2 separate regions of the Homo sapiens genome follow, and region 2 is linked to region 1. Evidence: promoter capture Hi-C in human tissues and cell types (Jung and others, 2019). All regions are on one chromosome and are shown on one strand. The core of a region is centred on a gene start or on the middle of the fragment in contact, and the rest is flanking DNA. Distances in the headings are between cores, read along the strand shown. Region 1 holds the start of KCNK3 (potassium two pore domain channel subfamily K member 3). Region 2 overlaps CIB4 (calcium and integrin binding family member 4).

Region 1 (2,960 bases), core at 8-2,507:
GTGTGTGTGTGTGTGTGTGCCCGCCCTGTGTGTACCCTGTGAGTGCCTGTGTGTATCTGTGTGCATGTGTGCCTATGCCTGTGTTGTCTGACAGTCTGGGTGTACGTGTGGCCTCCTACATGGTGATCTGCCCTGGCTTGGAAAGAACTGGGGTTATTCCTGTGAGGTGACTGTTTTGCTGGGACAGCAGAGAAGAAGGCTGACAAGGCCAGATCTGGCTTCCCGCACCAATTCTGCCGCTCTGAGAAAATCACAGGCACTGACTGGTGGCGACCAAACTCCTGGAGCTGAAACACGCAGACACACGTACACTCACAGCCGCCGTTATAGGGTGGCCCCAAGTGCCCCGAAGTGCCGCATTCCGACATCCTCATGCCTCCCCAGAGCCCAGCAGGTGTAGACCTGCTAGGCTGTGGAAGCCGATCCTCAGGGATACGGAGCACTGGCGCTCTCCCGCCGCTCACTCTCAGCGCCCTGTTCAGGGCCTGGCCCGGCCACACCCCTCCTGCCCGAGCCTCCGCCGGTCGTCCCTGCCCCTCTCACACACTTCGGAGTCCCTGGGGGCCTATGCAACATGGCAGGGCCAAGTTAGGGCTGGCCCGGCCGGAGAGTCAGGTCCGGAGCCAGGAATCGACGCCTCCCCGAGTTCCGTCCCCGCGGAGCACACACGCCAGGCTGAACTCGGGTTTCTGCGAGCGCAGGGTTCGGCGCCCAGCCCCTCTCGGGGGAGCCCCCGCCCCCAGCCCCAGCCGGCCCCGGACGACTCCCGGAGCCCCGCGCCCAGCCCTGGGTTCCCGCCCCCCGCCCGGCGAGCCGTTACCGATGGTGGTGATGACGGTGATGGCGAAGTAGAAGGAGCCGGCGAAGCGCCACTGCACGCCGGCCTTGTGCGGCTTGAGGCGCAGCACGACGCGCTCCAGCTCCTCGTAGCCGCCCTGGCTGAGGTTGTAGCGCGCCCGCAGCTCCTGCTGCCGCAGCTCCAGCCGCTGCCGCTCGATCAGCTCGGGCTCCGACTCCAGCGCGTCGAAGACCGCGGCGCCCACCAGCAGGTAGGTGAAGGTGCACACGATGAGCGCCAGCGTGCGCACGTTCTGCCGCTTCATCGTCCCGCCCGGGCCGCCGCCGGCCCCCCGGCGCCCCCGGCCCGCGCCTCGGCCCCGGCCGCCGCTGCTGCTGCCCCGGAGGCGGCCTGGGGCATGGCTGCGCTCGCCGCTCTCCGCGCCGGGCACCCGCTCAGCGCCCGGGGCCGCCGCCGCCGCCGCCGCCGCGGAGCTGTCCCTTCAGCACCACCCACCGCCCTCCTCCGCCCGGCCCCGCGCCCGCCCCCCGCCCCCCGCCCGCAGGCCGCCTCCTCCCGCCAGCCCTCCCGCCCAGCCAAATAAGGACTGGGGAGACGCGCCGAGGAGGGAGGAGGGGGGCTGGCGGAGGGGACGGGAGGGGCGGCCGCGAGAGAGCCCGGGCAGGACAGAGAGAGAGAAAGAGAGAGAGAGCGAGCCCGAGAGACAGAGAAAACTAGACAGCGAAACGCTGATAACTACGGAGAATGGGAGAAAGGCAGTGTAGGACTGAGGGAAGGGGGCTGTGTGACAGAGGAGGAGATAAAATCAGAGGTGCACTCAGACAGAAAAAGAAGAGAGGCGGGCAGAAAAATACAGAGCAAAAGATGGAAACAGAGAGAGCAACAGACTGAGACAGAGAGGCCTGGATTGCTGGAGATAAACTAATGACAGAGAAACAGACAGGAAGGCAAGGAAGGCAGAGCGAGCCCCTCCCCACCCCACCCTCCACCCTCATCACAGCATATTGCAGCCAGGAGGCACTTGGGGCCTCGCTGTCCTGCCCTTATCCTATGGATGAGGAAATGGAGGCCCAGAGAGGTCAAGTGACACGCATGGGCACGCAGTGATTTCGTGACAGCACTGGGACTCAGCCAAGCGTTCCTTCCTCCCAGGCCACACTCCTTCCTCCCTTGGGCCAGACTCTGGCTGTCTTGGAAGCAGGCAGGGCCCAGCTGTGGACCTGGGCACACATGAGCTGACACCCAAGGGAAAGCCCTGTTCTCAGGCAATGTGTGCCTTCCCAGGTCAGCACAGTTCTTGGAACTGGCTGAGAAGGCACAGGCTGGGAGTCTAGGCCTCCTGCTTCGCTCCCAGGGGCTTCTAGGCTGTCCCGACTCCCATGGTTCCTGTCTTGCACCCGTGCACCAGGCTGGGCTTAGGCTGAGTTGCCAGAGATAGCACCTGCCACCACCTTAGGGCATCCCAGCAGAACCGGGATCTAGCTGGAATTGGGCAGGTGGGGCCCAGAGCAGGAGGCTCACTGGCAGACTGCGGGAACTGGGGCAGGAGAGGGGGTCCCTATGCCTCAGTTTCTTCATTTGTCAAACATGGTGGCTATGGTGGTGAGGTGGGAAGGGTAGTGGAAACTCAGGCATTACTGACCCTCTCAGAGCCTTGTTTCCTTATCTTTTCAACGAGGTGTCGTAGCAGATGATCCCACAGGCCTTGCCCAGCTCTAAACAACTCCAGACTTGGATGGGCTGAGTGAGCAGAATGATTGGAATGCAAATCTCAGTGCCAAGAAGGGTTAAAAAGTCCTTCACAGGACCCTGGCATGGGCCAGGCAGAGAGACAGGGAAGAGACACCAAGGCCCCTGACTGAGAGCAGACTCAGGAGGCAGTCAGCCAGAAGCTGGAGCACTGTCTACCCACAGGCTGGGCTGACCTGTCACTGCCGGACACTACACTCCTCCAATGACACCCCAGAAGTGCCACCAACCCCTTCATTCCTTCAACAAGTATTTATTAAGCATCTGTTGTGTGTCAGGGATTCATCATCTCTGGTCCTCACCACAATCCTGAAAGGTAGGTGTGGTCATGCCTATTTTATAGATGGGGAAACTGAGGCTAAAGGCAATGTAGAGAATCAGTAAATTTCACTCAGCTGGGAAGAGGCTTCAG
Region 2 (3,135 bases), core at 431-2,930, 110 kb after region 1:
CTGTGGGGTCCTGGCTGGTGCTGTGTCCCCCAGGACTCCTCAAGTCCTCTTCCTGTTTAGCCCCCAGCTCCGTCTAATGCAGGCCTGGCCTCTTCTTTGCAGATTTTAATGAGAATGGCTTCATTGATGAGGAGGATCTGCAGAGGATCATCCTGCGACTGCTGAACAGTGATGACATGTCTGAGGACCTCCTGATGGACCTCACGAACCACGTGTGTGCTGGGGGCTGGGAGTTGGTGGCTGGGGCCGGGGATAGGGGCCAGGTTGTCACCCAAAGCCCCCGGATGTCAGGCCACCCTCTTGGGAGGAGACCCAGGGCCAGCCTGAGGCAGATGACACATTGGCCTTTGGTGCACACATTCCCTGGGGGCTGCCAAGGGGACAGGCAGCTCAGGGTGCCCTGAGGAATGGGCACACAGCTGGAGGCAACTGCCCCTCCACTTTCTGTCCTTCCTCCAAGTCCTTTCCAGGGTCCCCAGAACACGGAGCCCGACCCACCCACTCGAGGGGCCTCCCTACATGACAGGGACTGCCATTGGTGGGCCAACAACAGCTCAACCTCAGAGGGACCCATCTCAACATCCCCTCCCCACTCTGTCCCAGCACAACACAGTGCCCAGGTGTCCTGGAGTGACAAACACGAGGACGGCCCTGCAAACTCAAGTCAGGGCATGGATCTCTGCTTTCAGAACATGACAAGTGTCCAGCATTTCCAGTCTCGATGGGGACTAGAAGATAAAACCATAAGCACTGTTGAGGGAGTCACCACCGCCTCCCTGCCTGCCTGGGCCCCCTTCAGTGCAGAGCCCCTGTGTGTACTGGTTGGTGGGGCAGGTGGGGGACACTCTTGTTCTCTCACTGCCAGGCTCGTGCTGGAGGCCCCAGGAGTGAGAGGCAACCAGTAGGGTCCCAAACTTTGGTGCACATAACCTAATCTCTGTGGGGTCACTGGGGTCAGGGGACCCAGGAGACAAGTGTTAAGCATGTGGGAGAGCCCCTGGCATGTGGCTTTCCCCCTCCACCCTGTGCCCCACCTCACTGCCTGACATGGGGTTCCACTCAACTGTCTTCTGTGCTCCCTCGCCAGGTCCTGAGTGAGTCGGATCTGGACAATGACAACATGCTGTCCTTCTCAGAGTTTGAACATGCAATGGCCAAGTCTCCAGATTTCATGAAGTAAGGCATTCTGGAGGGGGTGAGACTGTCCAGGAGAGTGGTGGGGGCAGGAAGGGCCCCCAGTCTCTCCTCACTCCATGGGACATCTCAGTCTTCCCAAGAAGGCTGTGAGTTTCCAGAATACTTTGCAGATTCTTTCAGAGTCAGCAAAACTGGAGATTCTGAGAAATTAGGTAACCCTGGGGTATTAAAAGGCAGAGGAGAGGACTGGATCCCAGGCTTTGGGAATGACGTCACAGCTCCAACCTCAGAGCATTCCCTGTGCCAGCTGACACACCTCTGTGCTTCTCCCAAAGCCCACTAGGCTCCTGACGACCCCACTGCCTCCAGCGGCCAACTGGGAGGTAGGGGTTTACAGGGGGGATCTGAAGATGCTGGTGGTGGAGCTCATAGAAAAGAAACAATGAGAGAAGCACCCAATTCTATTTCTTAGAGCAGGAGGGGCCCAAAGGGTCTTCTGAGGCCCAAACGTCCTTGAGAAGGCTGGCCATCTCCAGATCTCCCTGGCCACGTTGAAGTCTTTTTGGGGTGCTGCTGCTTTCGGGAGATGCGTGCCCCCTGGAGGCAGCGCGTGCCATGGAGGACCAGCCGGGTGGAGCTGGCGTCTCCTGCTCCTGGGTCCGACTCTGCCCCTGGTCTCAGAGGTGCGCTGATTTCAAGTATGCCCACTCAAGGTGCTTTTACAGACTAAGGGAAACAGAGCAAAGAGCTAGACCTCAGCCAGCACCAGGGCAGGAGCCCGGGGCTGCTGGGTCCCTCTGTGCCAACGTCTCTGCCTCCCATCGCCCCTCCACGCTCACTCTGTGCTGTGCACCAGCTGTCTCCGCTTTGTCAGACATAAGACCATGCACGGCCTCCCTGCAGTGGTCAAGTTTATACCTCCTTGGTCTTGAGTGACTTTCAGTGACTCCTGAGTAACACCTCTCAGCTCTGACTCCAAATCCCCAGAGACAGAATCTGAGTGGCCATGGTCAGGGGTCCTCCCCTCTTCTGACTGCCTGGATGAGGAGGGGGCTCCTCATTCCAACAGGCCTGCTAGGGCCTGTGGCCTGGGTGGCCCCTCTCTAAGGATGCACACTTGGGACCACCCCAGCCAAAGCTAACTCCTCTTGTTCTGTCACAGCCCAGCACATAATTGAAGCTGGCACCCCGACTGCTCAGAGTTTCTCTTTGAATCTCTTCCATTTCTTTCCACTGATTCGAGCACCACAAGGTTCCTTCTGGTGCCCTGCCTTTGCCTTGGGGTGATGCTGAAAGAAGCTTAAAGAAGGTTTGGGGTTGCTTTGGGATGGCTGCAAAGTGGCCGTCACCCAGAGAAAGGGACACGAGATGCAGGCCGGGGAGGGAGCCTCCAGGACTACTGTGAACCCAGGAGTCAGAGGGCCCCTTGGACCTGCGGGCTCACATGGCTCACGGGATTCTTTCTTTCAGCTCCTTTCGGATTCACTTCTGGGGATGCTGATGTAGCGGCAAACACCTGACATGGCAGCCTCGAGGGAGACCACAGGAATCGAACCCCCTCCAGCACTGGAGGGAGCTGGTTTGAAGTATGACTTTGTACTGGGCCCACACTCACCTCTAGAATATTGTTTATTAGATAAAAGAAAAAGCTTTTCCTTAGCCCATCAGATCATCGCTTTTTAAATGCAGGGTCATACATGGTACTTTTTATTAAGAACTGCCCTTTCCAGGGCTTCAGTGTGCCAGCGATGTCAAGCAGGCTGGGGTGGCAATCTTTCTGAGGGAATAGTTCAAATCTCAACCCATGTCATAGCAGGGGGCCAAGCCAAATGGGATGAAGGTCCCTAGCAAGATACATGTCCTTCCCTCCCTTCATCAAAACCCCCGACCCCCAGCACCTCACAGTTCACAGCTGCACAGAGACGTGCACATAGCAGCCATTCCAGCCGGTGCCCGGCTCCCCACTCCCCTTCTGAGGGAGAAGGCATCTTGGCCCTG

The links. The method cuts DNA at HindIII sites, captures the fragments that hold promoters and counts their contacts. A contact is called where the count stands out against the background at its distance.
Region 2: a contact is called between a fragment that was not itself captured here and the fragment with the promoter of KCNK3 in region 1, in 4 of the 25 tissues and cell types used here (bladder, mesenchymal stem cells, spleen and 1 more).

What each region holds. Positions count from the first base shown.
Region 1 is chr2:26,691,019-26,693,978 of GRCh38, reverse strand. It overlaps KCNK3 (potassium two pore domain channel subfamily K member 3), which reads right to left and starts at 1,257. Exons shown (of 2, transcript NM_002246.3): 1 at 821-1,257. The coding sequence starts at 1,103. The HindIII fragment of the contact is 34,558 bases long and covers 1-2,960 here.
Region 2 is chr2:26,580,866-26,584,000 of GRCh38, reverse strand. CIB4 (calcium and integrin binding family member 4) reads left to right here. Exons shown (of 7, transcript NM_001029881.3): 5 at 103-212; 6 at 1,088-1,176; 7 at 2,608-2,796. The coding sequence ends at 2,638. Among named protein-coding and RNA genes, the nearest start is that of CIMIP2C, 20 kb to the right of the region's middle. The HindIII fragment of the contact is 6,746 bases long and covers 1-3,135 here.